6 separate regions of the Homo sapiens genome follow, and all the other regions are linked to region 1. Evidence: promoter capture Hi-C in 16 types of primary human blood cells and fetal thymus (Javierre and others, 2016). All regions are on one chromosome and are shown on one strand. Each heading gives the region's core, a stretch centred on a gene start or on the middle of the fragment in contact. The rest is flanking DNA. Distances are from core to core; before and after follow the strand shown. Region 1 holds the start of SLC2A3 (solute carrier family 2 member 3). Region 2 has its middle 13 kb from the start of CLEC2D. Region 3 holds the start of TNFRSF1A (TNF receptor superfamily member 1A). Region 4 holds the start of IFFO1 (intermediate filament family orphan 1). Region 5 holds the start of ACRBP (acrosin binding protein). Region 6 holds the start of TPI1 (triosephosphate isomerase 1).

The links. The method cuts DNA at HindIII sites, captures the fragments that hold promoters and counts their contacts. A CHiCAGO score of 5 or more calls a contact.
Region 2: a fragment that was not itself captured here is called in contact with the fragment with the promoter of SLC2A3 in region 1 in 1 of 17 cell types (activated CD4 T cells); the score reaches 6.2 in activated CD4 T cells.
Region 3: a contact is called between the fragment with the promoter of TNFRSF1A here and the fragment with the promoter of SLC2A3 in region 1, in 1 of 17 cell types (non-activated CD4 T cells). The highest score is 6.4, in non-activated CD4 T cells.
Region 4: the fragment with the promoter of IFFO1 here is called in contact with the fragment with the promoter of SLC2A3 in region 1 in 1 of 17 cell types (naive CD4 T cells); the score reaches 6.2 in naive CD4 T cells.
Region 5: the fragment with the promoter of ACRBP here is called in contact with the fragment with the promoter of SLC2A3 in region 1 in 4 of 17 cell types (neutrophils, naive CD8 T cells, monocytes and 1 more); the score reaches 8.0 in neutrophils.
Region 6: a contact is called between the fragment with the promoter of TPI1 here and the fragment with the promoter of SLC2A3 in region 1, in 2 of 17 cell types (non-activated CD4 T cells and total CD4 T cells). The highest score is 8.3, in non-activated CD4 T cells.

What each region holds. Positions count from the first base shown.
Region 1 is chr12:7,933,445-7,938,477 of GRCh38, reverse strand. It overlaps SLC2A3 (solute carrier family 2 member 3), which reads left to right and starts at 2,291. Exons shown (of 10, transcript NM_006931.3): 1 at 2,291-2,458; 2 at 4,576-4,668. The coding sequence starts at 2,444. RefSeq lists a cis regulatory region at 1-264, a silencer at 2,113-2,162 and an enhancer at 3,230-4,183. The HindIII fragment of the contact is 4,746 bases long and covers 1,181-5,033 here.
Region 2 is chr12:9,654,664-9,659,696 of GRCh38, reverse strand. It overlaps the pseudogene LOC374443. Among named protein-coding and RNA genes, the nearest start is that of CLEC2D, 13 kb to the left of the region's middle. The HindIII fragment of the contact is 318 bases long and covers 2,984-3,301 here.
Region 3 is chr12:6,340,101-6,345,133 of GRCh38, reverse strand. TNFRSF1A (TNF receptor superfamily member 1A) reads left to right here and starts at 3,058. Exons shown (of 10, transcript NM_001065.4): 1 at 3,058-3,358. The coding sequence starts at 3,320. It also overlaps the pseudogene RN7SL391P. RefSeq lists an enhancer at 3,156-3,255. The HindIII fragment of the contact is 11,725 bases long and covers 1-5,033 here.
Region 4 is chr12:6,553,901-6,558,933 of GRCh38, reverse strand. It overlaps IFFO1 (intermediate filament family orphan 1), which reads left to right and starts at 2,892. Exons shown (of 10, transcript NM_001193457.2): 1 at 2,892-3,677. The coding sequence starts at 2,905. It overlaps NOP2 (NOP2 nucleolar protein), which reads left to right. Exons shown (of 16, transcript NM_001258308.2): 16 at 1,292-2,063. The coding sequence ends at 1,941. RefSeq lists silencers at 2,715-2,874, 2,925-3,164, 3,275-3,454 and enhancers at 3,915-4,415, 4,416-4,916. The HindIII fragment of the contact is 7,963 bases long and covers 1,519-5,033 here.
Region 5 is chr12:6,645,331-6,650,363 of GRCh38, reverse strand. ACRBP (acrosin binding protein) reads left to right here and starts at 2,932. Exons shown (of 10, transcript NM_032489.3): 1 at 2,932-3,040; 2 at 3,352-3,570; 3 at 3,787-3,881; 4 at 5,027-5,033. The coding sequence starts at 2,998. ING4 (inhibitor of growth family member 4) reads left to right here. Exons shown (of 8, transcript NM_016162.4): 8 at 1-63. RefSeq lists enhancers at 3,005-3,074, 2,998-3,511. The HindIII fragment of the contact is 16,958 bases long and covers 1-5,033 here.
Region 6 is chr12:6,865,219-6,870,251 of GRCh38, reverse strand. It overlaps TPI1 (triosephosphate isomerase 1), which reads right to left and starts at 2,721. Exons shown (of 7, transcript NM_000365.6): 1 at 2,571-2,721; 2 at 1,265-1,388; 3 at 1,069-1,153; 4 at 862-994; 5 at 479-564; 6 at 116-203. The coding sequence starts at 2,685. It overlaps USP5 (ubiquitin specific peptidase 5), which reads right to left. Exons shown (of 20, transcript NM_001098536.2): 19 at 5,004-5,033; 20 at 3,620-4,268. The coding sequence ends at 4,175. RefSeq lists silencers at 2,115-2,554, 2,825-2,874 and enhancers at 3,144-3,805, 3,806-4,468. The HindIII fragment of the contact is 21,039 bases long and covers 1-5,033 here.

The DNA of each region.
Region 1 (5,033 bases), core at 1,042-3,541:
TTTGGGATATCCTTTTTCCTTTAGATACTAAATTCAGTTGCTGTGGTGACTAAAGGGGCCTCTGGCTCAGCATTTCCTGGAAGGCAATGGTGAGATGGGGGAGGGGAGTTGTCATCAAATCAGATTTTAACAATATCCTCGTTAAAGCAAAGGAAGCAACAGTAATCTAGTTTTCTCGGGTCCAGCAGTATCAATTTGAATTCTAGGCCCTCAACCAAAACCCTAAAGGAAGATACACTTTCTCCAATTCACCACTGGGAAAAAGTTTATCTCTTTACCAAGCGTCCTTCACCCACCCTGCCACCTCCAGTACTGAAAGGGTTGCAAGCTACAAATGAATGGGCATTAGGAATTTGATAGTTGATATTCCTCCTCCAAAAAAGCCTAGATACTATCTCTCACTTACCCAGCTGTTTAAACACAAACCAAGTTGTTTTGCTTTGTTTACTCTCAACCTGGAACCACTCTTCTCTCTCCCCGATTATCCCTCCCTCAGTTCTCATTCCTATTTTCTTCTCCTGCTTAGCTTGTTCAGTTTTCTTGTATAGCTTAGTAATCAGATACTTATGTAACACTTTTCTTTCAAGAAACTCACAGTCCATAACTAATAGGATATTAATAATCTTTTCCAGTTATGTGAGAATTACTTGCCCTAGTCCCTTTTTATACTTTATAAAAAGGGAAGAAGGGAAACACTATAAATGACTTGTGGGTCAGAACTCTTTTGTCCTATTATTCTTTTTTTTTTTTTTTTTTGAGACGGATTCTTGCTCTGTCGCCCAGGCTGGAGTGCAGTGGCGCTGTCTTGGCTCACTGCAAGCTCCGCCTGCCGCGTTCACGCCATTCTCCTGTCTCAGCCTCCCGAGTAGCTGGGACTGCAGGCGCCCGCCACCATGCCCGGCTAATTTTTTTTTTTTTTTTTTTTTTTTTTGTATTTTTAGTAGAGAATGGTTTCACCGTGTTAGCCAGGATGGTCTTGATCTCCTGACCTCGTGATCCGCCCACCTCGGCCTCCCAAAGTGCTGGGATTACAGGCGTGAGCCACCGCGCCCGGCCTTTTTTTCTATTATTCACTGAAGAATCACCAGCTTCTTGGAGAGTACCTGATACATAGCGTGTATTCGGCAAATACCTGCTTAATTGAATTCGGTATTTATTGCATTTCTAGATGCTATAAGCTTGAGACTAGCAGAAAGTGATGCAGAATTCAGAATGGGTGATATGGCAAATGCCTTATTAAATATAGGGCTCGGCGCGGTGGCTCACACTTGTAATCCCAGCACTTTGGGAGGCCAAGGCGGGCAGATCACAAGGTCAGGAGTTTGAGACCAGCCTGGCCAATATGGTGAAACCCCGTCTTTACTAAAAATACAAAAATTAGCGGGGCGTGGTGGCGGGCGCCTATAGTCCCAGCTACTCGGGAGGCTGAGGCAGGAGAATTGCTTGAACCCGGGAGGCGGAGGTTGCAGTGAGCCGAGATCGCACCACTGCACTCCAGCCTGGGCGACAGAGAGAGACTCCATATCAAAAAAAAAAAAAAAAAAAAAAAAAGGATATGGATTGTATTCCATAAACAGTTGAACCTCTTATTCCTACTGCCCTGATAGTTGGTCTGGCTCCTAGAAATTCAGATTTTCTTCCCTCCAGGTGAGATTATGCGAAGAAAGGAACACTGGCAAAATTATTTCCCTGATTTTCTTCTCTCAGGCTGTCTTTCCCTCCCCTTTAAGATTGTGTACTCCGTCTCAAAAAAAAAAGAAAAAAAAAAGATTGTAGACCCAGCCTATAAATTCATAGGATCAAGAATTCTTACTAACACTCTTTCTAACAACCTTAAATCTCTGATAGTAGCACCCACTTGACTTCGTTTTGTATGGATAGATTTATTCTAATCTCTCTGTAGATTGTTTTAATCCCAAGCAGATGCGAGAGCATAAAATAGTGTATTTGCCCTCCCTCCAGGCTTTTCTGGTAGTATTTTGTCTGTGAAACTAAGAGGCTCTAGCTGCTATTAGAAGAGGGAAGGAGTAAGGATGAGCTTTTGAAAAAAAAAAAAAAAAAAAAACCCAGGGTGGAGAGAGTGGAAGGATGTGGTTTTAAGAGAGGGGGGAGGGAGGGCGTTATTGTCTGTGGGGCGGGGGCGGGGGTAGTTCTGATAACACAGAATTCCGAGAGATCACAAGATTGCTTCAGGGGGGTGGGGTGGGGTGGGGTGGGGCTGGGGGCTTGTCGCCCTTTCAGGCTCCACCCTTTGCGGAGATTATAAATAGTCATGATCCCAGCGAGACCCAGAGATGCTGTAATGGTAAGACTTTGGATCCTTCCTGAGGACGTGGAGAAAACTTGCTGCTGAGAAGGACATTTTGAAGGTTTTGTTGGCTGAAAAAGCTGTTTCTGGAATCACCCCTAGATCTTTCTTGAAGACTTGAATTAGATTACAGCGATGGGGACACAGAAGGTAAGAATGATATAATTACTGGTTATTTTTGCTTGTTTGGGATACACTCAGAAAGGCAAATATTAATGGTAATCTCCTTGTTCTATTTTCTCCTAAGTCACCAAGCTATCTTAAGGCCTTTTCATTTCGTCTCTAGCCTGCACTGCTGCCGCTTCATCAGTTCTCTTTGAATGTCATACAGTTCTGTTCACCTTATCATAGGAAAGTCACCCGGAGAAGTTGTGTTTGCTTCTCAGGTTTATTTTAGGTAACCATATGCCACTGAGGACGAGATGGTTGAGTGTTTAGAGGATCGGGCTGCTTGGTTGTATGGATTACAAGTGTGGGTCTCAGAGCCAGTGTGAAGACTTCTCTGGAAGCATTAGACCTTGAAAAGGTCTGTGTTTGGAGGCACAGGCCAGGGTCTGGCCATCTGTTTGTCCTATAACATATGGGGTTCGTGGATGCTAAGGAGAAAGAATTCCAGTTGTCCTTCCTATTAGGGTTAAAATCGTGAGTGCAGGACATACTAAAATATTGAGTGTTGTATATGCATTATTTGCAGGGAGAAAGGCTTTTCTTTTTTTTCTGATTGAGTTTTACTCTTGTTGCCCAGGCTGGAGTGCAATGGAGCGACCGCAGCTCACCACAGCCTCCGCCTCCCGGGTTCAAGCGATTCTCCTGCCTCAGCCTCCTGAGTAGCTGAGATTACAGGCATGAACCACCGGGCCCGGCTAATTTTGTATTTTTAGTAGAGACGGGGTTTCTCTATGTTGGTCAGGCTGGTCTCGACTCCCGACCTCAGGCGATCCGCCGGCCTCGGCCTCCCAAGGTGCTGAGATTACAGGCATGAGCCACTGCGCGCAGCAAGAAAGGCATTTTTTACCAAGATAAATTTAACTAAAAATAAGGGGCCAGGTGTGGTGGGTCACACCTATAACCCCAGCATTTGGGAAACCAAGGCAGGAGGATCACATGAGGCCTGGAGTTTGAGACTAGCCTTGGGCAATATAGTGAGATCCCATCTCTACAAAGCAGAAAGAAAGAAAATGTAGGAAAATAAGAAAGGGATGGAAAATTATGAGACTAAAGAAGAAAAGGCTCTCAAAGATAGTGAATGATGAGAGGAGACAGAAGAGATTTTTACTAAACGGAAAAAGATTTAACAGAGCATTGCACTGGCAGGGCCCTCCGGGGTACCGATGCTTAGCTGGGACTGAGACATCTGGGAGGCTGCAGGCAAGGTCACTTCTCCTGCTGAAGCTCCCAGCCTGCTGCCTAATCTGCCCGACCTGAAAGGAAAGGAGTTTAAGATATGAAAGGTTGAAGGGATTTTGGGTGGTGGGGTGGGGGGGAATGGCGTAGAAGTTGGCCTCAGGTATAAAAATTGAGCTGCCCCAAGGTAGAAATGGAAAATGTCTCGCCCGGCTGAATTATTCCAGGCAAGGTGAAGATGACCGGTTCTCCCCACTAAGAAATGTCTCTTATATGTTGGGTTCGCCCTTATATGTTGGGTTCAGAGTAAGTACTTTCTTCCCCTGCGCGGGAGTTAGGGATAGCAGAACTGTATTTAATAAACGAAGACTGAAATGGGGCCAGGATGCAGTGAGTAGATCCAGTAGGTTACATGGTCCTGAGAGATAAGAGACTCAAAGAGCCACCCAGCAGTGAAGACACAAACTACCACCCCCTCCACCACCACCAGTGGGCTTCCGTGGAGTCTGGGGTACAGATCAGACTGCACTGTATTTGTTTCCAGAATGGTCAATTCTTAGTAATCCTACCCGAGACTGTCTTTTTCTCTGCCCTCCCAGTTCGTGAGTGGAATTCTATGCCTACATTTGCCTGATGCAAGTTTTTAAATATTTCCAAACTGACCAACCCAGTTTCTCTTAACTTCTTCCTTCCCCAATTTTCTTTCATTTTTACCAAGTTAACTTCACATTCTTATCTCCAGATAAGTTCTTTAGTATAATCTATTCCTTTGTCTTCCCCATTAATTACCTAAATCTCATTGGATGTTCTTTTCATACCACTCATAACTCAAATTCTCCTAATACAGCTCCATAATTAATAAGAAACAGTCATCAATCACAAGTTTTAAGGACTATTCTCTCCTCTGTCTTCCCTCCCTCCAGGTCACCCCAGCTCTGATATTTGCCATCACAGTTGCTACAATCGGCTCTTTCCAATTTGGCTACAACACTGGGGTCATCAATGCTCCTGAGAAGGTGAGTGCCAGGCCACAATAATTAGAATTTAGAATAGGGAAGTTATTCCTTTAAGTAGGGTTTCAGGAATTCAGAATTTAAGGCCAGGCATGGTGGCATCTGCCTGGAGTCCCAGCTACTCCTGAGGCTGAGGCTTAAAGATCACTTGAGTCCAGGAGTTAAACACCATCCTGAGCAACACAGTTAGTGAGGGTCCCTCCCCAAACTAGGGGATTTTAAGACAAACTTTGTATCTATCCTGTCCAAGACTGAAGATGGAGACAATATTGGTGGGGAAAATTAGTGGGGTCATCTAATCGAAGCACAAAGCTCACTTACTCCCGGAACGCTGGGCGGTGCTGTTCTTCCTCCCACTCTTTCACCTC
Region 2 (5,033 bases), core at 1,893-4,392, 1.7 Mb before region 1:
GCAGTGGCTCATGCCTGTAATCTCAACACTTTGGGAGGCCGAGGCAGGTGGATCACCTGAGGTCAGGAGTTCGAGGCCAGAGGCCAGTCTGGCCCACACGGCAAAACCCAATCTCTACTAAAAATACAAAAATTAGCCAGGTGTGGTGGCACATGCCTGTAACCCCAGCTAATTGAGGGGCTGAGGCATGAGAATCACTTGAACTCGGGAGATGGGAGGTTGTAGCGAGCTGAGATCATGCCACTGCACTCCACTCTGGGTGACAGAGTGAGACTCCATTTAAAAAAAAAAAAAAAGTCACTGACCAATAAGATCTCATTACTGACCATAGTATCTTATGGATCTAGTTTGTTCCCAATTCTGGTATCTAATGTCCCTAGCTGGTCAGATTTTTAAGAAGGGGAAGTCACCTGAATGTCCCTGGAGCATCCCTAGTCAGGATCGAGGCAAGAGGGTTGGGGGACTCCATCAGGACTGTTATAACCTAATATTGGAGGAACTTAGGAGAATTCAGGATCTAGTTCAGTCCACAGGCAGATAACAAGGACTTGAAGACAATGTACAGGGTTAAAATCTAAAAACAGGTGTAACTTTGCTTTCCTTAGAAGCATAATTTTTCTCTCCCGTTGATGATGTAGGAGATCTTAGATTTTAGAACCTCTTGAGGCTAGGAAACCAAACCAAAGCAGCCTTTGGATTTTGCTTATAATAAGGTTCTTGAACCTGCCAGAAAGTGACAATTTTTACTCATTCCCTGTAAAGCTGGGAACTCATGAAGCAAGGCATTTTACGCACTTTTTTTTTTTTTCTGAGACACAGTGTCATGCTGTCGCCCAGGCTGGAGTGCAGTGGTGGGATTTCCACTCACTGCAACCTCCACCTCCTGGGTTCAAGCAATTCTCATGCCTCAGCCTCTCGAGTAGCTGGGACTACAGGCGTGTGCCACGATGCCTGGCTAATTTTGTGTTTTTAGAAGAGATGAGGTTTCACCATTTTGACCAGGCTGATCTCAAACTCCTGGCCTCAAGTGATCCACCCACCTCAGCCTGCCAACATGCTGGGATTACAGGTGTGATCCACCACCCCTGGCCTCTATGCACATTCTGAAATATGACATTTCAAGCCAAACCTTAGCAATATAAATAATGTTTCCAACTGGATCCTGCTTATAAAGAGAGAGTGGATTTTTACTGAAGTTGTATAAATAAAACTAAAAATATCCACAAATAGTTTCTGAATTTTGAAGGAATCAAGTAGAGAGAAAAAGCAAATGCTTCCATATTTGTTCACAAAGGATTATTTATCAAATTATTGCAAACGGTAGATAGCTTGTGACAGAAAATTTCCTTGGCTCTGGAAAATAAAACATTTACGTCATAAAAACATCCTTATAAATTAATTTTACGTAATTAATTTTGTTTTGCTTGATCTTAATTAGCAATTTTGGACTATAGCTGATTGCGAACGCTTCCAAAGAAGAAATTAAAATAATAACTGTGAATGACAAAAACCCAGAACAGCCATAGGTAAAGATCTGATTAACGTTACCAATTAACCAGGAAATTTAAGTGCTTCTGTGGCATACAATCATCCAACATAAAAATTGCAATTATTACAGGTATCTCAGCATGTCAGTATCTTAGGAATCTCATAAAATTTCACATTTCTATAAATGATGAACTTACACAAACACAGCTTAAAGAAAGGTAAAACACCATTTCTTATTTGACAATGCTTCTAGCAGTATTTGCCAAATAAGCCTAATCATTTAATAACTCTACAAGAAAGACAAGCCTTTGGAGGAGCATATCTAGGGGGTCCACCTGGAAAAATCCCAGTCATTTTTAGGCCAAAAGGCTTAATTTAGGATTTGGATTCTAGAGAAACCTGCCAAAGATGTCAAAAAGCTTAAAATACTTCCTTCAACAGATAATAAGTCACTGCTAAGAATACTACTCATTTAATCAGAGTGACAACCTAAAGACCTCAGAAAGTTACATGGATGGAAAAACTTTTACCCTTTTAAGGCTCAGTTTCCCTAAGCAGTCAAAGCCTAATAAAGACACCATGAAGCACTGGGAATTATCTTGGTAAAACACAGAATCTTTGTTTTCTAGGCCAGTGACCTTGATCAGGGGAATACATTTAATAACAACATAGGAAATCCTAGTAACAAAACAATTTTGACACATTAAGAAAAAACAACAATATAGAATCAAGTTTTGCTGAAGTAAAATGTTGCCTTTCTAGACCTTTAAGATAAATCCCAAACCAGGACTAGACAGTTCTCAGGAAGGAATGTGGCAGAAATAGGAATTAGTTTGTAATTCAGAATGGCTGTTAAGGAAACATTGCAGAATTAAAAATCAAAGCCTCTTGTAATCTTACTAAGAACAAATCAATATTTTAAGAGACTCATATTGTTTTAATGTAGGAGACCAAAATTTAAGTTTTGTATCAGTGCATCTTAACATCAAAGTTCCATTTTTTCCAACTTTTATTTTAGATGTAGGGGATACATGTGCAGGTCTGTTACTTGCAGTTTTTCCAGGGGCATGGTGGAAGCTGCTGCTGATTCCACCATTCTGGAGTCTGGAGGATGGTGGCCCTCTTCTCACAGCTCTACTAGGTAGTATCCCAGTGGGGACATAACTGGCAACTGTAGACATAATTGTTTGGCTTGCTACAAATCCATTTTCTGTTCATGTAGATTCTGCCACTGTTGACTCCATTGTCATTCAGGAAGGCACATTCTCCACTTCCTCTGATAGCAAGCCTAAATCCAAACACAAAAATATTAAATATTTGTAAGTTAGACACCTGCATTTGTTCCTCCCCATCATCTTCTGCAACCCCTCCATATTTCAATGTGAATAAGAGAAAAGCAAAAGTCTGTCATTAATATTGCTTCATAGTAATATAAACCATTTCTGTATTTAGTGTCCTTTATGTCCTCAAGGTCCTTGCTTGAAAATCACAAGCTTATCATTCATCCATACCAAGCCCAGCTATGTTGATAGGTATTTAACTGATGCTTGCTGCTGTACCCAAATGAACTGCTGCCATTGGTGGTCTTCAGTCAAGATGATTTCCAGCCTCCTCCCAAATTGTTTTGTAAATGTGTGAAAACTAAAAAAAAAAAAAAAACTAGTAAATTCCTGAAAGGGCTTAGCTTTGATTAATGGATATGACTGGGTTCCTACATTTTATCTGCTGCAATGTAATGATTATATTCAAAATACCCCTTTGAAATGTTCACAGTCCAAGGAACTGTTACTAGTTTCCTTCTGGTGATAAAGCTTTAGGAGGGAGAGATTCCCATGAGTTCCCTGGATGCTTTCCTATTGTAAATGGATGCAACACCTGCAAGAGTGGGCTTAACAGCCTTGTGGATATCAGCTCCTCAGTGGCTTCCTATGATTGTAGAACCTTTGTTGCACATCAGCTATAAGTAGGGATTTCAGCAGTTTTAAATCAGTGGATGAAAGTGTAAAATTGTGAGAAATGTCACTGTCACATTAAAGACTTCAACTGAAATCACAGGTAAAGCTTTCCCAAAGACACAGCTAACCAACTGAAGAGCATAAAAAGGGTTTAGATTTCTTACCTCATATTGCAGTAAGTTTTCCATGATACTACATTTCTTATCTCATAAACACAACTCACACACATAACCATACATAAACACAGCAAAAGATGAGAAGTCTCAAAACATACATGTTATTATATTCCATGTTGTCTGTCCATTTCCAAATGCGATGGGATGATTCTCTTCTAAGGCCAATCCAATGGTCAGAAGGGCCTTTGTATCTTTTCAGGAAATTCTATAATAAAACAGAAACTAACACCATGAGCCCCTTTCTTTCATATTACTCTGGAGTCTCTCTTCCCTATCCCTTCTCTTTTTCACTGGCAGCGTGGTATAATTAAGCAGCATAAATTCTGGAGTGAGACTAATTCCCAGTTCTCAGTTTAAGTCATTTAACGTCTCTGATCCTAAATTACTTTATTTAAAGTGAGCATAAATCCCAGTTTCATTGGGAAATTCTCAGTTTATGCTTGTCATTCCACCAATGTATTAATGATCACTTTTAATGCCCTATATGTCTTAATCTAGATGACAAATTATATAATTACCTTACTTCTTAATAGAATGAGAACAATACATCTCATCTTACCAGCTCACCATGAGCATTACATGGGGAAATATATCTAAAATGTCTCACAGGGTTCCAGGCAGAGAACACACCCTCAACAAATGTTAGACATGAAAACACATCTCATGCCCCTGGAATGGGATCCTTCTTAGTATTTCAGCTTTAACCCTATGTAGCCGACCTGCCTCAGGGGGCTAAGTATTTAACAGAAAACATGATCCAAAAATATCTCTTACCAGTTCCTCCATAGTTGCAAACTGAGCAAGGCTGGCTTCTAATGAGACACAGAACGTTTGACTCAATGTCTAATTTCTTATGCCTTCAGAAAAATAAAAACATTTACTCCTAAATCTAATTCAGCTTTTTGGGCAAGCAGCGTATTTAGATGACTCTACCACTGGCTTTTCCTTTCTTGCTAAAAGTGAGACAATCACAATGAAACATAATAAAGAAATTTTCTCACCCATTTTATCTATTTTTCTGCTTACCTTCCTGAGGTCAATTTTGAAGTGTACATATCTGATTGTTGTTTTCCTAACTCATCACAAAGTGCCTTATCCTAAGCACAACAATCGTCAGTCCGGTGGTTTCCAGCTGGGTATCTGCACCCTTGACTTTCTGAAATTTACACTGACACTAACAGTTTCAAGGAAATCAATTTCTATAGCATCGACTTCCATAGTACTGTACTTTCACAGGGTCATACGGATGATTTTTCCATATCCTCCCTCATATTAGCCCTTCTTTCTCTTGACAAAGCAATGCTGAGGACCTATTACCTCTATACAAGAGATGATTTTTTTATGTATACAGTTCTCTGTACTTTCGTGCATTCTCAATCTGCTTAAGTAGAAGATACCAGCTCTTAAGGCCAGG
Region 3 (5,033 bases), core at 1,809-4,308, 1.6 Mb after region 1:
CATGTATCCTAAATATTGAAAAATATTCTCCTTTTGTACCAGGCTATGTGTCACGGCTTTGGCGCTTTGCACAGACTATTAGAAATACCTTATAACATTAAAAATAGGACATTGAGGCCGGGCGTGGTGGCTCATGCCTGTAATCCCAGCACTTTGGGAGGCCAGGGTGGGTGGATCACCTGAAGTCAGGAGTTTGAGACCAGCCTGGCTAACACGGTGAAACCCCGTCTCTACTAAATACAAAAAATTAGCCGGGCATGATGGCACATGCCTATAATCCTAGCTACTCGGGAGGCTGAGGCAGGAGAATTGCTTGAATCCGGGAGTCAGAGGTTGCAGTGAGCCGAGATTGTGCCACTGCACTTCAGCCTGGGCAACAAGAGTGAAACTCTATCAAAAAAAAAAATAGGACATTGAAGTTGGTTTCTTTTTTTGATACAGAGTCTCGCTCTGTCACCCAGGCTGGAGTGCACTGGCAGGATCTCGGCTCACTGCAACCTCTGCCTCCTGGGTTCAAGCAATTCTCCTGCCTCAGCCTCCTGAGTAGCTGGGATTACAGGCACGCGCCACCACGCCTGGCTAATTTTGTATATTTAGTAGAGACAGGGTTTCACCATGTTGGTCAGGTTGGTCTCGAACTCCTGACCTTGTGATCCGCCCACCTCAGCCTCCCAAAGTGCTGGGATTGCAGGCGTGAGCCACCGCACTCTGCTTTTTTTTTTTTTTTTTGCCGCCCTCTCACATACCATACTCCCCTGTATCACTTATCCTTCTGAAGTTGTTATTAATCATTAATACAACTAGCTGGGCATAGTGGTGTGCGATGGTAGTCTTAGCCACTCGGAAGGCTGATGTGGGAGGCTAGCTTGAGGCCAGTAGTTCTAGGTTAGGTGAGCTATGATTGCACCATTGCACTTTAGCCTGGGTGAGAGCAAGCTCCTGTTTCAAAAAAAAAATTAATTGCTACCACTTACTAAATGCTTAATATATGGCAAACACTTGCCAAACACTTTATATGCTTGATTTAAGCATCAAGCTAGCTCTGTGAAGGGTACCAGCAGGTTTCCCATTTTTTAGATGAGCAGACCGAGGTTCTTCTCGCTGCTTCATACTGGAAACTTGCACTTGATTCTGAGGCTCCTGCTTCTTCAAGAACACTGCTTTGGGTTCGCTTCTCCTGTCCCTGGGGTCTCCCTTTGTGATGGTGGTGAGCTGCTTCCTTTCTGAATCCAGCTTCAACCCTACAGTTCTCCAGAAGCTGGACGATGGGGTGGAGTAAAGTCAGCTCCCCCCGCAGTGAGGGACACTGAAGCTCCATTCTCATCTGCGGATCACAGAGGGGAAGCCAGGAAGAGCCAGGGGACGGTGGACTTGGGGCTGGGAGGTCATCTCAGAGGGATAAGGGGTGAGGAGCTCTGGTTTCAAGTTCCAAAGCCCTAGGACCTCCCTCTTCTCTGTCTGCCTGCATTTCTAGCAGCCTCAGCAGCTGCAGGCCCTTGGGCGGGGCTGGATGTAGGGAAGGTCATTGTACCAAGAAGATAGTTGGGTAAATGTGGTACCTTTGTTGTAGGATTCTCTTGGGAGATGTCTGCATCAATGAGGATGGCATAAAGTAACCAGAGTCAGGATGTGGGGTCTGACTCAGTGACAGAAAAAGTGGCAGTGTGTCTCTCATAGCCAAAGGGGCCCTTGGACCGGCAGTCGGGAGTCTGGGGTTCTCTGTTGGCTCTGCCTCCTGGCACATTGGGTTTCTGGACCTCAGTTTTCTCCTCTATAAAACCGGGCAGTTGGGTGGGCACGGTGGCTCACACCTGTAATCCTAGCACTTTAGGAGGCTGAGGTGGGCAGATCATTTGGGCCCAGGAGTTCAAGACCTGCCTGTGTAACATGGTGAGACCCTGTCTCTACAAAAAATACAAAAATTACCCAGGCGTGGTGGTATGCACCTATAGTCCCAGCTGCTTGGGAGGCTGAGGTGGGAGGATTACTTGAACCTGGGAGGTCGAGGCTGCAGTGAGCTGCGATGGTACCACTGCACTCCAGCCTGGGAAACGGAGCGGACCCTCAAAACAAAAACAAAAATGAAAAACAAGCAAACGAAGAAATAAAAAAACCTAGGGGGTTGTAGTCGATGATCTGTAAGGTGAGTTATAATTGATGTATTGGAATATTTAGGAAAAGGGCACTGGGAATATGCTAGGAACACCTGATGGAGGTATCTTTATTTCCACGGCAGCTTCGTGGATACGTCTCATTGATTCTCATGGCATCACTTTCCCCATGTAGGTGGGCAGACATTGTTACCCCTGTTTAATAAACAAGGAACCAACAGAGGCTTAGGAGAGGAGTTGCCTGATGTCGCATGATTGGTGGCAGAGCCAGGATCAACAGTGGGGCAGGGTGGGGGGACCTGGCCAGGCAGAGACTGGATGAGACCTGGGGTGAGGAATGGCAGGCACCCAGTCAGGGCAGAAAACGAGGGTTGGGACTTACTTTGAGTTTTGGATTGGATCAGTAAATTCCCAAGAAAGAGGGAGACTAGGAGGCTAGTGAAGAACTCTGGAGTAAAGGGGAGGATTACTAAGGGACATGGAGTACCTATCATGTGTCGGACGCTTATCTATATCTCTCCCATCTGAACAAATCCTTACAGGAACCCCAGGAGACAGGTTATCTCCACTCTGCAAATTGGAAAACAGATCCAGACAGTTTCAGTTATGTGTCTGAGAAGTTCATTTATGTGTCCAAGACACATTCTTAGCTAAAAAGCTAAGCATTCTGAATTGGAACCCAGAGAATTTGACTCCCAGACTCTGGATCTTTTCACTGCTGTGATCCATCTGGGAAAGGCTAGTGATGTGGGCAAGGGGCTTATTGCCCCTTGGTGTTTGGTTGGGAGTGGTCGGATTGGTGGGTTGGGGGCACAAGGCAGCCAGATCTGGGACTCCTGTGCTTGTGACTGGACTACAAAGAGTTAAAGAACGTTGGGCCTCCTCCTCCCGCCTCCTGTGGCCTCCTCCTCCAGCTCTTCCTGTCCCGCTGTTGCAACACTGCCTCACTCTTCCCCTCCCACCTTCTCTCCCCTCCTCTCTGCTTTAATTTTCTCAGAATTCTCTGGACTGAGGCTCCAGTTCTGGCCTTTGGGGTTCAAGATCACTGGGACCAGGCCGTGATCTCTATGCCCGAGTCTCAACCCTCAACTGTCACCCCAAGGCACTTGGGACGTCCTGGACAGACCGAGTCCCGGGAAGCCCCAGCACTGCCGCTGCCACACTGCCCTGAGCCCAAATGGGGGAGTGAGAGGCCATAGCTGTCTGGCATGGGCCTCTCCACCGTGCCTGACCTGCTGCTGCCACTGGTGAGACCAGGGACAAAGGGAAGAGTGGGCTGGTGGGCGAGGCACCTTCCGGCTGGCGTGGGCCCTCTCCGGGAGGGGGCCGAGCCTCTCCTGCCCGGGCCTGGTCCTGGCGCCAGCCTCAGGCCTGCAGGTCCTAACCTCAGCCACTGCCAGTGTGGGGTTCCCCATTCATCCGCCTTTTGGAGTAGGGGCTGCGCTGAGGCAGGGGAATGGGAGAAGTTTGAAAGGGAGAGAGTAAAAGGAAGCCCTGGCCCCTGACAGCGGTGGAAGTTTGTGGGCGGCCAAGGGAATGTGGGCAGGAGATAGGCCCAGGGTGGGGCAGATTTGGCGGGGAAAAGAAGGGAGTGGGAGTAGGAAGATTAGTGCTCGGGGAGTCCAGACGGTTCTGAATTCTGTCCCTCCGGTCAGCTGGCTGGCCTGGAGGGTGTTGGGCCGTGGGGAGGCGAGGCTGCCTGTGGAACTTGGTGGAGCACACCCTGTAGGGCAGGATTTTGGCGGCTGGTGAAGTGGGGGAGTGAGTTGAGGAGTGGGGATGGGCTGGTGTGGTGGGTTTGGGATGCTCATGGTGGGAGGTATTTGAGAATGGGCTGGGACACTGGATGGGGCAGGGCAACCCAGTGGACAGTGTCCCCAGTGCCCTGGCCAAGCCCCGGCCTCTCACCTGGGGACATTCTTTACCCTTTTGCCTGCTGCTAGGCAGGTAGCCGCTGTGGGACTGAGCCTTCCCAGGGAGCTAGTCCTACCCCCACCTGGTCAGTGTCCCTGGGCCTGTCCTCCAGCTTCCCCTCCCCGCTGCTTCTCACAGACCTAAACAACAATCCCTTGGTTTCTTATTCTACAGTTCAGTTTGGGGAAGTTGGTAGAAAGTTGTTTTCGTCACTGGAAAATGTCCCTTTCTCTGGCCTCAGCCTTGTTTCAATGTATCCTTGATCGTCCTCCACGTCTTGGTCCGGGAATCATCCTGTTCAGATGTCCTGGGCCCATCTAGTCAGGCAGATTTTCCCTGCCCTGCCCGGCCTCTGAAGGCTGCGCCTACCTCCCCTCTCTTTAGTGCCTTATACTCTTCCTCTCCTACCATTCCTTTCTTCCAGCAATCTCCCCAGACTCTCCTCAGACTTCTCAGAGCCTCTTTTTTTGAAATCTTTTCTCGCTAATCCTCCTTCCCCTCCTCTCTGCTCCGCTCTGGTCCCGGCCCCAGGTCCCCAGGCAGCACGTCTCTGGTCAGGGTCTCACTCTTCTTCTTCTGCCTCCTCCTGCCTCCTTAGTCCCACCCGCTCTTCCCTTCTTCCCACTGTCCTTCCCCCACGGTCTCCCCACCAGCCAGCTGCCCTGACATCCTGCTTCTGTTTTCTGTTTGGGGGCGGCCCCTGGCTCCCTCACATACCTCCTGCATGAACAAGAGCAGCTTATATAACCTAACCTTCCATGCCTTCGTTTCTTTATCTCCAAAATGGGTGTCACAGTCTTGACCTCATACTGTTGTTTTGAAGATTGAATAGACTGATACATGTTAAGTGTTCATTTGATTTATTAAGTGTGCGCTCTGGGCTAGACACTGTGATAGGTGCTGGGATTACAGCAGAGAACAAAATCCCTGCCCACAGCTTTGACAGTCCATCAGGGGAATAGGTTGTAGCAAATAGAAAGCACTCAATAAAGTTTTTATATTGCTGTG
Region 4 (5,033 bases), core at 1,643-4,142, 1.4 Mb after region 1:
TATTTTAATTATCCCGCACTTCATCACAATTCACATGGAAAGAAACTTCTCTGATTTAAAAAATAAATAGGCCAGGTGTGGTGATGGCTCATGCCTATAAATCCCAGTACTTTGGGAGGCTGAGGTGGGAAGATTGCTTAAGACCACGAGTTTGAGACCTGTCTGGGCAACAAAGGGAGACAGTAGTTCCAGCTACTCTGGAGGCTGAGGTAGGAGGATCCCTTGAGCCCCAGGAGTTTGAGGTTGCAGTGAGCTATGATGGCACCACTGTACTCCAGCCTGGGCAACACAGTGAGACTCTACCTCAAAAAAAAAAAAAAAAAGATAAATAAAGCCTAGTGCTTCAAATTCATTTAGAAGACCCTGCGAGGCCGGGCGTGGTGGCTCGCGCCTGTAACCCCAGCACTTTGGGTGGCTGAGGCAGGTGGATCACCTGAGGTCAGGAGTTCAAGACCAGCTGGTCAACATGGTGAAACCTCATCTCTACTAAAAATACAAAAATTAGCCGGACATGGTGGCGCACGGTTGTGATTGTCCGGAGGCTGAGGCAGGAGAATTGCTTGAACCCAGGAGGCAGAGGTTGCAGTGAGCCGAGATCACACCACTGCACTCCAGCCTGGGTGACAGAGTGAGATTCCATCTCAAAAAAAGAAAAAAAAAACCCCAAAACCCTGAGAATCACCTCTTCCTTACAGCATCTTGTTACTTCCTGTCCTCAAGAGGGCGCAGCTTCCTGTAGAAACCTTTTGGCCCAAGGATAGGCAGTGATTTTTTTTTTTTTTTTTTTTTTTTTGAGACGGTGTCTTGCTTTGTCGCTCAGGCTGGACTGCAGTGGTGCAATCTCAGCTCATTGCAACCTCCACCTTCCAGGTTCAAGCGATTCTTGTGCCTCAGACTCCCAAGTAGCTAGGATTACAGGTGTGTACCACCATCCCTGGCTAATTTTTGTATTTTTAGTAGAGATGGTTTCACCATGTGGGCTAGGCTGGTCTTGAACTCCTGGCCTCAAGCAATCCACTTGCCTTGGCCTCCCAAAGTGCTGGAATTACAGGTGTGAGCCACCACGCCTGGCCTATAGGCAGTGATCTTTTAATACAAGGTTCAACTAGGACTTGAGTAAAGGCCAAGTTATATTAAGTAATGGGAATTTAGGTAATCTGCTCTTAGGCACTGACCTAATTGTGTGGAGCTCCTGCCCAGGAAATGGCAATTCTCATATTTTAATATGAGAATATTAAAATATGGTGATAAGGCCCATTTTCTGACACCATCTGTTTAATTTTAACCCCAGGAAATTCTGAAACAGCCACACCTACAAATGTAGACTTGCCTCAGGTCATCCCCAAGTCTGAGAACAGCAGCCAGCCAGCCAAGAAAGCCAAGGGGGCTGCAAAGACAAAGCAGCAGCTGCAGAAACAGCAACATCCCAAGAAGGCCTCCTTCCAGAAGCTGAATGGCATCTCCAAAGGGGCAGACTCAGAATTGTCCACTGTACCTTCTGTCACAAAGACCCAAGCTTCCTCCAGCTTCCAGGATAGCAGTCAGCCAGCTGGAAAAGCCGAAGGGATCAGGGAGCCAAAGGTGACTGGGAAGCTAAAGCAACGATCACCTAAATTACAGTCCTCCAAGAAAGTTGCTTTCCTCAGGCAGAATGCCCCTCCCAAGGGCACAGACACACAAACACCGGCTGTGTTATCCCCATCCAAGACTCAGGCCACCCTGAAACCTAAGGACCATCATCAGCCCCTTGGAAGGGCCAAGGGGGTTGAGAAGCAGCAGTTGCCAGAGCAGCCTTTTGAGAAAGCTGCCTTCCAGAAACAGAATGATACCCCCAAGGGGCCTCAGCCTCCCACTGTGTCTCCCATCCGTTCCAGCCGCCCCCCACCAGCAAAGAGGAAGAAATCTCAGTCCAGGGGCAACAGCCAGCTGCTGCTATCTTAGATGGTTGAAAACTAGACGGGTGGCTCACTGCCATTGTCACCAGGTTGGAACTCTTGCCTCTGTGAGGATGCCTTCTCTACTGTGCATACCCATGAAATTTAATACACATTTTAAAACCTCTGGCCACTGAGTATTTTTGAGGGAACTGGGTGCTGCCTTTGCCGCTTTAAGGGTAAAGATGGGAGGTGGGACTGGGATCTTCTGAGGAGAGGGAATGGTTGGGTGCTACTGAGAAATAAGGTCAGTTTTAGGCTCCTGCATCCTTGGGTTTTCCCAGGAAGGGAAAGCCCTGGAGTCAGAGCTAGGGGTGATTGAACTCCGGGGAGAGGAGGGCAATAGAAGTGTAGGGGAAGGCGGGGCACACTAGCTCATGCCTGTAATCCCAGCACTTTCTGGGAGGCCAAGGCGGGTGGATCACCTGAGGTCAGGTGTTCGAGACCAGCCTGGCTAACATGGCGAAACCTCGTCTCTACTAAAAATACAAAAAATCAGCCGGGTGTGGTGGCGGGTGCCTGTAATCCCAGCTACTCGGGAGACTGAAGCAGGAGAATCGCTTGAACCTGGGAGGCTGAGGTTGCAGTGAGCCAAGATCGCGCCACTGCACTCCAGCCCGGGCGACAGTGAGACTCGGTCTCAAAAAAAAAAAAAGTCGTGTAGGGGAGATGGGCTTGCCACCAGAACCCATGGGGTACTGGAGGTCCTGGGCTTTACGCCACCCCGGCTGGAGTCCAGGCGGTGGCTCCCCTCATCACAGGGCTCGGCCTCAGACCCGGAAAGGTCCAGGGTCCGGCCTCCAATTGGAGCCTGTCATTGGCTTCCCCTCGGCCCGCCCCCTGACCTCTGCCCCGCTGCCGAGCCGCCTGATTGGTCGGCTCTGTCCCGCCGGCGCCGCATTGGCTCTTCTGGCTCGCCTTCCATCCCTGCTCCTGCACCGGTCTGCATCTCCCAGCAGAAGGCGCAGCCATGAATCCGTTATTCGGCCCCAACCTCTTCCTCCTGCAGCAGGAGCAGCAGGGCCTGGCCGGGCCACTGGGGGACTCACTGGGAGGCGACCACTTCGCCGGGGGAGGAGACTTGCCCCCGGCGCCTCTCTCGCCGGCCGGCCCTGCTGCCTACTCGCCGCCCGGGCCGGGCCCGGCCCCGCCTGCCGCCATGGCCCTCCGCAATGACCTGGGCTCCAACATCAACGTGCTCAAGACCCTGAACCTCCGGTTCCGCTGCTTCCTGGCCAAGGTGCATGAGCTGGAGCGCCGGAACCGGCTGTTGGAGAAGCAACTGCAGCAAGCGCTGGAGGAGGGTAAGCAGGGCCGGCGGGGCCTGGGTCGTCGCGACCAGGCAGTGCAGACCGGCTTCGTCAGCCCCATCCGGCCCCTGGGGCTGCAGCTGGGCGCCCGGCCGGCCGCTGTCTGCAGCCCTTCGGCGCGCGTGCTGGGCTCGCCCGCGCGCTCCCCGGCCGGCCCCCTCGCGCCCTCCGCGGCCAGCCTCTCGTCGTCCTCCACCTCCACCTCCACCACCTATTCCTCGTCGGCCCGCTTCATGCCCGGCACCATCTGGTCGTTCTCGCACGCCCGCCGGCTCGGGCCGGGACTGGAGCCCACTCTGGTGCAAGGGCCTGGCTTGTCGTGGGTGCACCCGGATGGGGTGGGCGTCCAGATCGACACCATCACGCCCGAGATCCGCGCTCTCTACAACGTGCTGGCCAAAGTGAAGCGGGAGCGGGACGAGTACAAGCGGAGGTAGGGATTGGGAAAGGGGGACAGGTCTCTCTGTGTCATACCACTCACAACGGGCCGCGAGTTGGTGTGGGTTCCGAAGAATCAGGGGTGAAAAGAATGAGAGTAAAGTTTGTGCTGTGTAATGAGGAGCTTGGAAGCAATTGGATGCAGGGAGACTAGAATCCGCAGAGAATGCAGAAGCCCTGCTCGTGACAGGAAGAAGGACGCTGGGAGCGGAACACGGGGGGATTCCTACTTTTCCGGCTTGTCTCTGCCATCCAGGCTTAACTGCGGGTTTTGTGCGGTGTGAAAGGGACTGGGGCTCTGCCCTACCGGTCTCAGCCCTGGGGCAGGTTAGGGATATAAACTTCAAAAGTAGGAGGCAAGGATATAGCGTAAATTTGGGAGACTAAATTGAGTGAAACTGGAAGGGGCTGGTGAGGGAGGGGCTGTACCTTGCAACGAGTGATTCTTTCACACCCCAAGGTTTCCCAAAGAATATTGATGGAAACCAGGTACCTGCTGTGGTTTCATAGGAAAAGCTCCGGGACCTCAAGCCATTGCTTGAGTAGGTCAACAAACTGGGAAAAGAAAGAGTGAAGGGAATTCACTAGGGTGAGGGTGGAGAGCAGGGCTGACAGGGGAATCTTGGCAGTATAAAGCGCCAGTGGGGAGGGAGAGTGGAGAGCCAGCAGGGGACTGAGCAGGGAGAAGCTGGGATATGGGCCCTCCCTAGGACCGCGAGGCCGCGGGGCGGGCCCGGTGCATTCTGTGGATGAAGATTTGGCTGTCTGAGAGGAGCCCGGCCCCAAGGGGCAAGGGAAAGGGATGTGATGCCAGGAGTGCTGGCTGTATACCAAGTGGATTCCTTAGATGGCTGATAACCAAGCCGATAGGACAGGAGTGAGAGCAGAGGTAGTGTCTTGCAGACTCCAACCCAAGCCTTGAGGAGGGAGCGGGTGACTGACAGGCTTTGGTTTGGCGGCCTCCCCTCTCATCTCAGCTATTATGACCCCTTGTGGGCGGGCCTGGGAACTACCTATGCAGCCCAGTGTGGCGGAGATTCAGCACTGGGTGAGGATTGGCCGAATGTTCTAGGAAATGACCGCTGGGTCTAGGGGCGACCTTCAGGGATCTCCACCCTGCTGGAGTTTACCAGATCACAGATCAGCAGGCTTTCTTTTTTTTTTTTTCCCATAAATGATAATATTTTATTATAGAAAAAGCATCCCAAATACAGGATTTCGTAAACACTGGTAGGTGAACAAGTGCAATTTTAGAAGTAAATGCAAAGTAAAGAGGCAAAACCTACAAGCATTTTGCCTTCAGAAGAAGATGTAGTGTTCTCCTGCACTAGTGATCCCACCCAGAACACAA
Region 5 (5,033 bases), core at 1,683-4,182, 1.3 Mb after region 1:
TGCATCTTTTCTCCATAAAACATCTTTCACTTAATTTCCAATAAATGATGTATTTGTGCTATACATACGTACTGCTATACTATACATTAGCTTGACTTCTTTTTTTTTTTCCTTTGAGGCGAAGTCTCACTCTGTTGCCAGGCTGGAGTGCAGTGGCGTGATCTTGGCTCACTGCAGTCTCCGCCTCCGGGTTCAAGTGATTCTCCTGCCTCAGTCTTACAAGTAGCTGGGACTACAGGCACATGCTACCACGCCCAGCTAATTTTGTATTTTTAGTAGAGACAGGGTTTCACCGTGTTGGCCAGGATGGTCTCCATCTCTTGACCTCATGATCTGCCTGCCTTGGCCTCCCAAAGTGCTGGGATTACAGGCGTGAGCCACAGCACCCAAGCTGATTTCTTTTTTTCATTTTTTAAAATTTTTTTTAAAGTAGGCCAGGCCCGGTAGCTCACGCCTGTAATCCCAACACTTTGGGAGGCCAAGGGAGGTGGATCACCTGAGGTCAGGAGTTCAAGACTAGCCTGGCCAACATGGCGAAACCCGGTCTCGGCCAAAAATACAAAAATTAGCTGGGCGTGGTCATGGGTGCCTGTAATCCCAGCTACTCGAGAGGGTGAGGCAGGAGAATCGCTTGAACCTGGGAGGCAGAGGTTGCAGTGAGCTGAGATTGTACCACTGCACTCCAGCCTGGGCGATAGAGTGAGACTCCGTCTCAAAAAAATAAATAGGCTGGGTGCGGTGGCTCACACCTGTAATCCCAGCACTCTGGGAGGTTGAGGTGGGTGGATCACCTGAGGTCCGGAGTTCGAGGCCAGTCTGGCCAACATGTTAAAACCCCATCTCTACTAAAAATACAAAAATTAGCCAGATGTGGTGGCATGTGCCTATAATCCTAGCTACTTGGGAGGTTGAGGCAGGAGAATCACTTGAACCCAGGAGGCAGAGATTGCACTGTGCTGAGACCAGCCATAATTTTTGTATTTTTAGTAGAGACTGGGTTTCACCCTTTTTTTTTTTTTGAGATGGAGTCTCACTCTGTCATGCAGGCTGGAGTGCAGTGGCGTGATTTCGGCTCACTGCAACCTCCATCTCCCGAGTTCAAGCAATTCTCCTGCCTCAGCCTCCCGAGTAGCTGGGACTACAGGCACATGCCACCACGCCTGGCTAATTTTTTGTATTTTTAGTAGAGACAGGGTTTCACCGTGTTAGCTAGGATGGTCTTGATCTCCTGACCTCGTGATCTGCCTGCCTTGGTCTCCCAAAGTGCTAGGATTACAGGCATGAGCCATCGCACCGGCCAAGTTTCACCATTTTGGCCAGGCTGGTCTCAAACTCCTGGCCTCAAGAGATCCACCCTCCTTGGCCTCCCAAAGTGCTGGAATTCCAGGAATGAGCCACAGTGCCTGGTCTCTATTTTATTAATTTATTTTATTTTATTTTATTTTTGAGACAGGGTCTCACTTTGTCACCCAGGCTGGAGCACAGTGGTGAGATCTCAGCTCACTGCAGCCTTGACCTCTGAAGACTCAGGTGATCCTCCTACCTCAGCCTCCCCAAGTAGTAAGTGGGACAACAGGCGCACACCACCACACCTGACAATTTTTGTATTTTTTGTAGAGACAGGGTTTCGCCATGTTGCCCAGGCTGGTCTGGAACTCCTGGGCTCAAGGAATCCACCCGCCTTGACTTCCCAAATGCTGGGATTACAGGCGTGAGCCACCAAGTCTGGCCCAAGACAATTTCTTGTTTTATTTTTCTTTTTTACTTTTGCTTTTGGGTGGGGACAGGGTCTCACTTTGTCACCCAGGCTGGAGAGCAGTGGCCCGATTGCACCTCACTGCAGCCTTGGCCTCATGGGCTCAAGCGATCCTCCCATCTCAGCCCCCCAAGAAACTGGGACTACAGGCACGTGCCACCACGCTTGGCTAATTTTTTGTACTTTTTGTAGAGACGAGGTTTCGCCCTGTTGCCCAGGCTGGAATTTCTCATTTTAAACACAAAACAGATACAAAAGCAAAAGTTCTCCTCCCATACCTCAGTGGACTGTCTTACTCGATTCTCCCTTGGAAACCACTTTCGTAGACCACTGAGCCACCCTCTTGTTTTCCCCTTGGACCCATTTTGCTCATGGAGGCGCCCTGTCTAGTTCCTACCCAGATAGGCCTTGACTTGGTTTTGCACATTCTATCTCTGCCTGCGCTTAGCTCTAGACCTCACGACCTGTTTGTTGGGCGAGTTGCTTCCCTAAGCCCCGATTTCTCATCTGTAAAACGAATGATAGTGTATCTACCTTATGGGATTCCTATGGCAATTACGTAAGGTAGTGCATGTAAAGATGCTAAGTGGCTGGCTACGGTGGCTCACACCTGTAATCCCAGCACTTTGGGAGGCCGAGGTGGGCAGATCATTTGAAGTCAGGAGTTCAAGACCAGCCTGGCCAACATGGTGAAACCCAGTCTCTACTAAAAATACAAAAATTAGGCCGGGCATGGTGGCTCACGCCTGTAATCCCAGCACTTTGGGAGGCCGAGGTGGGCGGATCACAAGGTCAAGAGATCGAGACCATCTGGCCAGCATGGTGAAATACCATCTCTACTAAAAATACAAAAATTAGCTGGGCGTGGTGGCGTGCACCTATAGTCCCAGCTACTCGGGAGGCTGAGGCAGGAGAATCACTTGAACCTGGGACGCCGAGGTTGTAGTGAGCCGAGATCGCACCACTGCACTCCAGCCTGGGCGACAGAGTAGGACTCCGTCTCAAAAAAAAAAGAAAAAGACGCTAAGTGAAGGTAGCTGTTTGCCATTCCTACCATCTGGATGGGCTCTGGCCACTTTAGGGCCCTGAGAGCCCGGCTGTCGAGGCCCCGCCCCGGCCCGCTCTTTGTGACGCGTGGGCGGTGCCCGCGTGCGCCCCGCCCCGCGCCTGCGGCTCTCTCTGCGGCTTGGCCCGTTAGAGGCGGCTTGTGTCCACGGGACGCGGGCGGATCTTCTCCGGCCATGAGGAAGCCAGCCGCTGGCTTCCTTCCCTCACTCCTGAAGGGTGAGAGGTTTACACCTGCTCCAACAGACTCTCCCCGGGCTAGTCCTCTCCCTCCCGAGAGCTCTGCTTTTACGGTTTCTGGATCGCTTCCTCATGGTGGTCGCGCTGGGTCGGCTCCCTAGGTCCTGGGATACTCCCATCTCCCCCCGCCCGCGGCCGGACCTTTGCCTCTGTCTCTAGACTCCCCCCGCCCTGGTCAGCAGGGATAACCCTCACCCCGTTCCTAATTTGCCAGTCTGGGTCTGTCTGTCCTGGTCTCGGAGCGGGTTTTGGGGTTCGGTCCTTCCATCATCCGTTCGCCCGCTCCGCAGTGCTGCTCCTGCCTCTGGCACCTGCCGCAGCCCAGGATTCGACTCAGGCCTCCACTCCAGGCAGCCCTCTCTCTCCTACCGAATACGAACGCTTCTTCGCACTGCTGACTCCAACCTGGAAGGCAGAGACTACCTGCCGTCTCCGTGCAACCCACGGCTGCCGGAATCCCACACTCGTCCAGCTGGACCAATATGAAAACCACGGCTTAGTGCCCGATGGTGAGGGCCAGACTAGGGGGGAAACCGAGGCACCCAGAGTGTTCACCCAAACCTCAGGGCAAAAACCCCTGTGCTCATGTGAGGCGGGGAAGGGCATGGCTGGCACCACACCATGAGCTCGTACTCTCCACCCTCCCCATGGCGTGGAGTCCATTGCCCACAGCCCCACCCCAAGCTCCCCACGGGTTCATCTTCTCCACCCCTGCCCTTTCTCAGGTGCTGTCTGCTCCAACCTCCCTTATGCCTCCTGGTTTGAGTCTTTCTGCCAGTTCACTCACTACCGTTGCTCCAACCACGTCTACTATGCCAAGGTGAGGCCCAGGACAAAGGTTGGATTTGGTGCCCCAGGGCCAAGGGAGAGGCGGCAGCAGTGGGGAGTTGAGGAAGGGTTCCAGGAGAGTCATCCTTAGCTCCTCCTTCCCTGCCATTTTGCCAGTCATTTACCCAGATTATATATGAATACAGTCTCACCTTGGATATTCAGATTGAACAATTCTGTTACTGCAAGAAAAGTAGAGAAGAGACTGGGCATGGTGGCTCATGCCTGTAATCTCAGCACTTTGGGAGCCCGAGATGGGCAGATCACCTGAAGTCAGGAGTTCGAGACCAGCCTGGCCAACATGGTGAAACCCCGTTTCTACTAAAAATACAAAAAAAAAAAAAAAAAATAGCCGGGCTTGGTGATGGGCGCCTGTAATCCCAGCTACTCGGGAGGCTGAGGCAGGAGAATTGCTTGAACCCGGGAGGCAAAGGTTGCAGTAAGCCGAGATCATGCCACTGCACCCTATCCTGAGTGGCAGAGCAAGACTGTGTCTCAAAAAAAAACAACAACAGGGACGAGTGCGGTGGCTCACGCCTGTAATCCCAGCACTTTGGGAGGCCGAGGCAGGCAGATCATGAGGTCAGGAGATCGAGACCATCCTGGCTAACACGGTGAAACTCTGTCTCTACTAAAAATACAAAAAATTAGCTGGGCGTGGTGGCAGGCGCCTGTAGTCCCAGCTACTCGAGAGACTGAGGCAGGAGAATGGCGTGAACCCGGGAGGTGGGGCTTGCAGTGAGCCGAGATCGCGCCACTGCACTCCAGCCTGGGTGACAGAGTGAGACTCCGTCTCAAAAAAAAAAAACAAAAAAAACAAACCCAAAACCCAAACAAAAAGAAGTAGGGAAGAGGGATGGGAAGAGGCAAAGAGATAAGCCCTTACGTTTCTTCGAACAGGTCAGTGATTTTGAGTCAAATGCAAAAGTGACGGCAGGGATGTGGCCCAGACAAACAGAGATTCATCTTCTGAAGGGACCCTTTCTCAGGTCTAGAGGGTTCCAGCAGGGACCATGTCCCTTTATCCCTGCCTAGAAACTGAGAGATAAGACATGCTGGAAAAGGGGTTGAAGAACCAGCTGGAGCAGAAGTCTGCCCTTTAGGAAAGGCTTTCCCATTTTCCTTCTCTTCCTGCAGAGAGTCC
Region 6 (5,033 bases), core at 1,472-3,971, 1.1 Mb after region 1:
AGAACAAGGGCTTGGTCAAGAATGGGATGAGTCTGCCCCATCCCCACCTCCATGTCCGAGGGCTCAGTCTAGTCCTCAGCCCACTCCACCTCAGCCGGGAACCAAAGCCACTCACCTCCATAAATGATACGGGTGCTCTGAGCCACCGCATCAGAGACGTTGGACTTCAGCCATCCTCGGAGCTTCTCGTGTACTTCCTGGGCCTAGAACAAGAAGCTGGCCTAAGTAAGACCTTTTCTGCCTCTCTAAGAGGAAAAATCACTGGCACCAGTGGACACTTAGTGTGGTTTCTGACTGAGTCAGAGTACCAGGGCTCTGATCCAAGCCAGGCCCTGGACTGGATGCCCTTGGACAAGTCACTGTCTCTGGGTTCAAGGTCTCTGTGTCTTTGAAATAAGGGGTTGCCCCATGTGGGCTGTGTCTGTCCAAACCTATTGAGGCAGGCTGGGATGAGGGCAGGGCTCCTGGGCCCGGTTACCTGTTGGGGTGTTGCAGTCTTGCCAGTACCAATGGCCCACACAGGCTCATAGGCCAGGACGACCTTGCTCCAGTCCTTCACGTTATCTGCAGGGCAGAGATACAGATGGAGGGAAGGGTGAACAAGAAAGAGCTCTCCAGCCAGGTTCTCCGGAGTACGAAGAACGGTGGCCTACTGCCCCCTAGTGGACATTGGGGGATTTCCAGGTGGCATCTACCTTGGGGCTGGAGAAGTCATAGGCCCCAAGCAAAGATTGTCACTCCCCCTCCCCTTTTTCCTTTTCTGGATCAGCATGGGGACCAAGACAGGCTCCAGGGCCTGACCCTACCCTCTGAGTCTCTGTGGCCCTGGATAGGCTCAAAGGTCCCTTTCTCCAGAGATACCTGCGATGACCTTTGTCTGCTCGAAAACAACCTTCTCAGTGATGCCAGCTTCCCTTTCATCTAGCTTCTCCCCAATGCAGGCGATTACTCCGAGTCCCTCTGCCAGAGCATGGGCCACTTTCTGCCCAATCAGCTGTTGAGAAACAGACTTGGTGAGACATCCTTCTTGGAAAAAGACATCCCTTATCTTCTCTCTTGGCTACTAACCTCATCTGACTCCCCAAAGACATGCCTTCTCTCTGAGTGCCCCAGGACCACCCACGTGGCTCCGCAGTCTTTGATCATGCCAGGGCTAAAGGAAGAGATGAAGCCAAGGTTCAGCAGGGAGCCCACCCTGTGGCTTTCCCCTCAACGAGGAAAGTGAGGGAAGGGTCCCACACACCCCTCTCCACCTCGATCTCACCTGATCTCCCCAGTAAAAGCCCCATTAGTCACTTTGTAGCAGTTCTGCGCAGCCACAGCAATCTTGGGATCTAGCTTCTGCCGGGCGAAGTCGATATAGGCAGTAGGGGGAGCACAAACCACCTCTGAGGACAAGATGGTACCACAGGGGGATGAGACTAAAGAAAGCCTTCATTCCCCACAATTCCTAACCAGTGCCCTGGAGCCCCCCAGCCCTCACCCTCTTCTTCTTGGTTCTGCTCTCCCCCTTTTCACCCCAGCAAGATGACCTTTGTCCATTTTCCAGCCCAGGCTGGGTCTGCACTCAACTCGAAGAGCCTTCCAGATACCCCTGAGAGGCCACGGCCCTCACCCTGCCCTCTGCTCTTTTAACAGCTGGGGCTCCAATTTCCTCGAGCTATTCTCGGCATAGGCACCTCACAGACTCAGCATTCTCCAGGGAGCAACCCTGCTTCCCTTCTAAAATAGCCCATCCTCACCTCCCCTTTGCAAGGCAAGGATTTGTAGCAAAAGGAGAGGGGCCAACTCCTGGGGTTTGTATTGAGGCCTCTGGGGAATGAACGAGAAGGGGATGCCTCTTTGGATCAGGCCCGCGGCTCTCCGATTTCGGTGGAGGGAGGAAGGAGGATGGAGGAGAGCATCCTTTGCCCGTGGGTGGCAGAGACCTAACTGACTCAGAGGCCTTGCGCTTTGCTGTTTCCAGGTTGGGGAAAGCGGTAGGATGGCTCCTCACTCCCAAATCGCTCAGCCTGTTTGGCACGGGCTCGGTCCCTTCCGTGGAAGGCGGGAGTCGTTCAGGTTGCCGAAGGGAAGGGGTCAGATCTGGGGCTCAGGGAGCCCGAGCAGCTCGGCGCGGGGACGCGGACGCCGGCGAGGAAGGGGAGGAGTCTGGGGCTACGTGCGGCGGCGCACGGCGCGGGAGGCCAGGGCGCAGGGAGCGGGAAGCCCACGCGGCCCAGCCTCCCCCGGTCTCCCGCAGAGCCTCGGGCTCCGCTCCTAACCCCGTCGCCTGGCGGGCACAGCCCCAGTGCGCGCCCCGGGGCCACCTTCCTCCAGGAGACCCAAAACGTCCTTACCTGCCCCATAGTCCAAGGGGCATCATGTGCTCCGCCCTGCCCCCTCGACGCACCGACGGGGCTGCGGCTGCGAGGCCCCTGCCCGGACCCCAGCGGCCCTCGTCCCACAGCCCTGCATCAGGTCCGCGCGGATACCGGCCTCGGGGCCTCGGGGCCTCGGGAGAGGGCGCTGCCACTCCTGCCCCGGCCCCGGCCCCGGCCCGGCCAGACCCCTCCTCGGCGAGGGCTTACCGGTGTCGGCCGGCACCTTGGCCGCGTTCAGAGTGCCGATGAGCTCCCCCAGACTCTGCTTCCGCCCGTTCATCTTCCAGTTTCCCCCAACGAAGAACTTCCTGGAGGGCGCCATGGCGCTGGAGCCGAGGCGCTGAAGGTCAGTGTCTGCGCGCAGTCGCGGCCACTGCCCACTTATATAGAGCGCCGCGAAGTGGAACTCCGCCTCCTCGCCGTCCTCCGCCATGGCCCGCCCAGTCCCCCGGAGCCCTGCCCCCCGCCCGCCCTCCTGCCGCCGCCCCGGCCGCCGCCCGATGATGCACTGTTCCGACGTTCCCCCTTCTTGTGGCAACGTTCTAGGAGAGTCGGGGGCTCGGTCGCCTCCGCCTCGATTGCGGGGCTTTCGGGACAAGGCGAGACCTGTGAGCTCCGGCGCTCAGGGGAACCCTCGCTTGGCGACTTGAGTCCCCCACGGGGCCAGAAGTGGTTTTCAAGCGGAACTAGCTGGTGGCAACTTGGCCGTAGCCCAGATCGCCCACTGGGGCAGAGAGGGCCCCTCTCCAACTGTGGGATAGACAACCTCCTTCGCCCATCGGAGCAGCTCATGCCCGACTGCTGAGCAGGCACCCTTGTACCCAGGGAGTCTACCTGAGTGAAAACTTGCGGGACAAATGCAGGGTTCACAGCGGGAGGGGCAGCCCACACAGGCATAGGCCGCCAGGATCATCCCAACCCTCGCCCCGGCTGGCAAGGCCTGGCAGGAACTGCAGGGACTGAGTCCCAGCCTGAAGCCAGCTAGCCAGTTAGGGACATTTGGGAAATCCTCCACTCCTGTGTGAATAAAGAGAGGGAAGGGTTCTTCACTCCATCTTTCCTTGGCTTTGTGTCGGCATTTAGTCACTCTACTCCACCTCCCCACCCAACCCCAATTTTCCTAGAGCTCTAGAACCAGTGAAAAGTGGAGACTTGACTTTGGCAGGGAGGCGGCCAGAGTTAGGAGTTTTCTTAAGCGCCCTCCTGCTAACCCCAGGAAGGTAAGCCTCTCCCCCAAGGTATCAAACAGGACACAATTTAGCCGTTGTACTTTTATTCACATCGTGTATTTTGGCATTTTCCAGAGAAGGACAAGGAAGAGACAGGGTGGGGGAAAGACTGAGGCAGGAGGGCAAGTCGGGGGGTCCCTATTTCCCTCACATCCCTCCTTGACCAACCACACAGGGGCAAACAAAGGGGGAGGGGAGGCACAGGTGATCGCTCCACTGGGAGAGGATGCACAAAGCTACACCCACGCGCACAAACGAGACCCCTCCCTCCACACCAGGGGGCTGGGCGGGGCGACACAGAGAAGCAGAGCACTGTGGATTCCGGGGGCAGGGGAAGCAACAAAGTCTCCTTACAGACAGGTGGCCGGCCCCTCCCGTCCCCGTCCTGCTCCATCCCCAGAGTCTATCGCTGCCCCTCTGCTCTGCCCAGCCATTCTCCCACGGCCTCCAGCTTCTTCCCTGCTGCCGGGGACAAAAGGAAAAAGGGTACAGAGCAGAGGGGCTGAAGTCCATCCCTCAGCCCCTCTCCCTCATGCCAGGTGGTCTTCCCCTGCCCTCATTGGTAAGGGGTGAGGCAGGCTCTTAGCTGGCCACTCTCTGGTAGAAGTAGATGTAGCCCAGGTCCTTGGGCGGCTTCTCGGAGGCACACACTTTCTGGTCATTGTAGATCACCCATCTGGGGAAGTGGGGAAAACAGAAAAGGATGAACAAACTGGGCATTCAAAGTGGCATCATGTAGTCTCTCAGACATGGCCCCTGGAAGTGCTCTCCACACTCTCTGCCCATACCCCAAATCCACAGCCCAGCCACCATGTGCCTTAAGGGAGCTTCACAACCTCACAAGGGTCACGGACCCTATTATGTCTTCAGATCCTCCAGTACCTTTACAACCACCCTCCACCCATTCCAGGGAGGCAGGGGGTTGGTAAACTTTTTCTGGCAAGGGCCAGATAGTATTTGAGGTTCTGCAGGCTCTCTCTCTGGTCTCTGACACAACGACTCAACTTTCCTGCCGCAGCGTGAAAACAGGCACAAACAACACATAAACAAGTGTGTCCAGGTTCCAGTGAAAATTTATTTACAAAGGCAGGGGGCCTGGCCAGGCACGGTAGCTCATGCCTGTAATCCTAGCACTTTGGGAGGCCGAGGCAGAAGGATCACTTGAGCTCAGGAGTTCAAGACCAGCCTGGGCAACATAGTGAGATCCCATCTCTATTTAAAAAAAAAGCTGGTGGCCAGATCCAACCCTTGGGCCAATCACTGCTGCAAGACCTTCTGTCACTCTCTGGCACTTTATGTCCCCATCAGGCAGTCCCTTCACCTTCTCCCATAGCTATCCCAAGGACTTCCAAATGGCCCTCCTCATTCCCACCACCATTCTCCATTCAAAACGCATGTGGCCAGCACTCACCTGCCTTCTTTCTTGATGTGGCAGACGTAG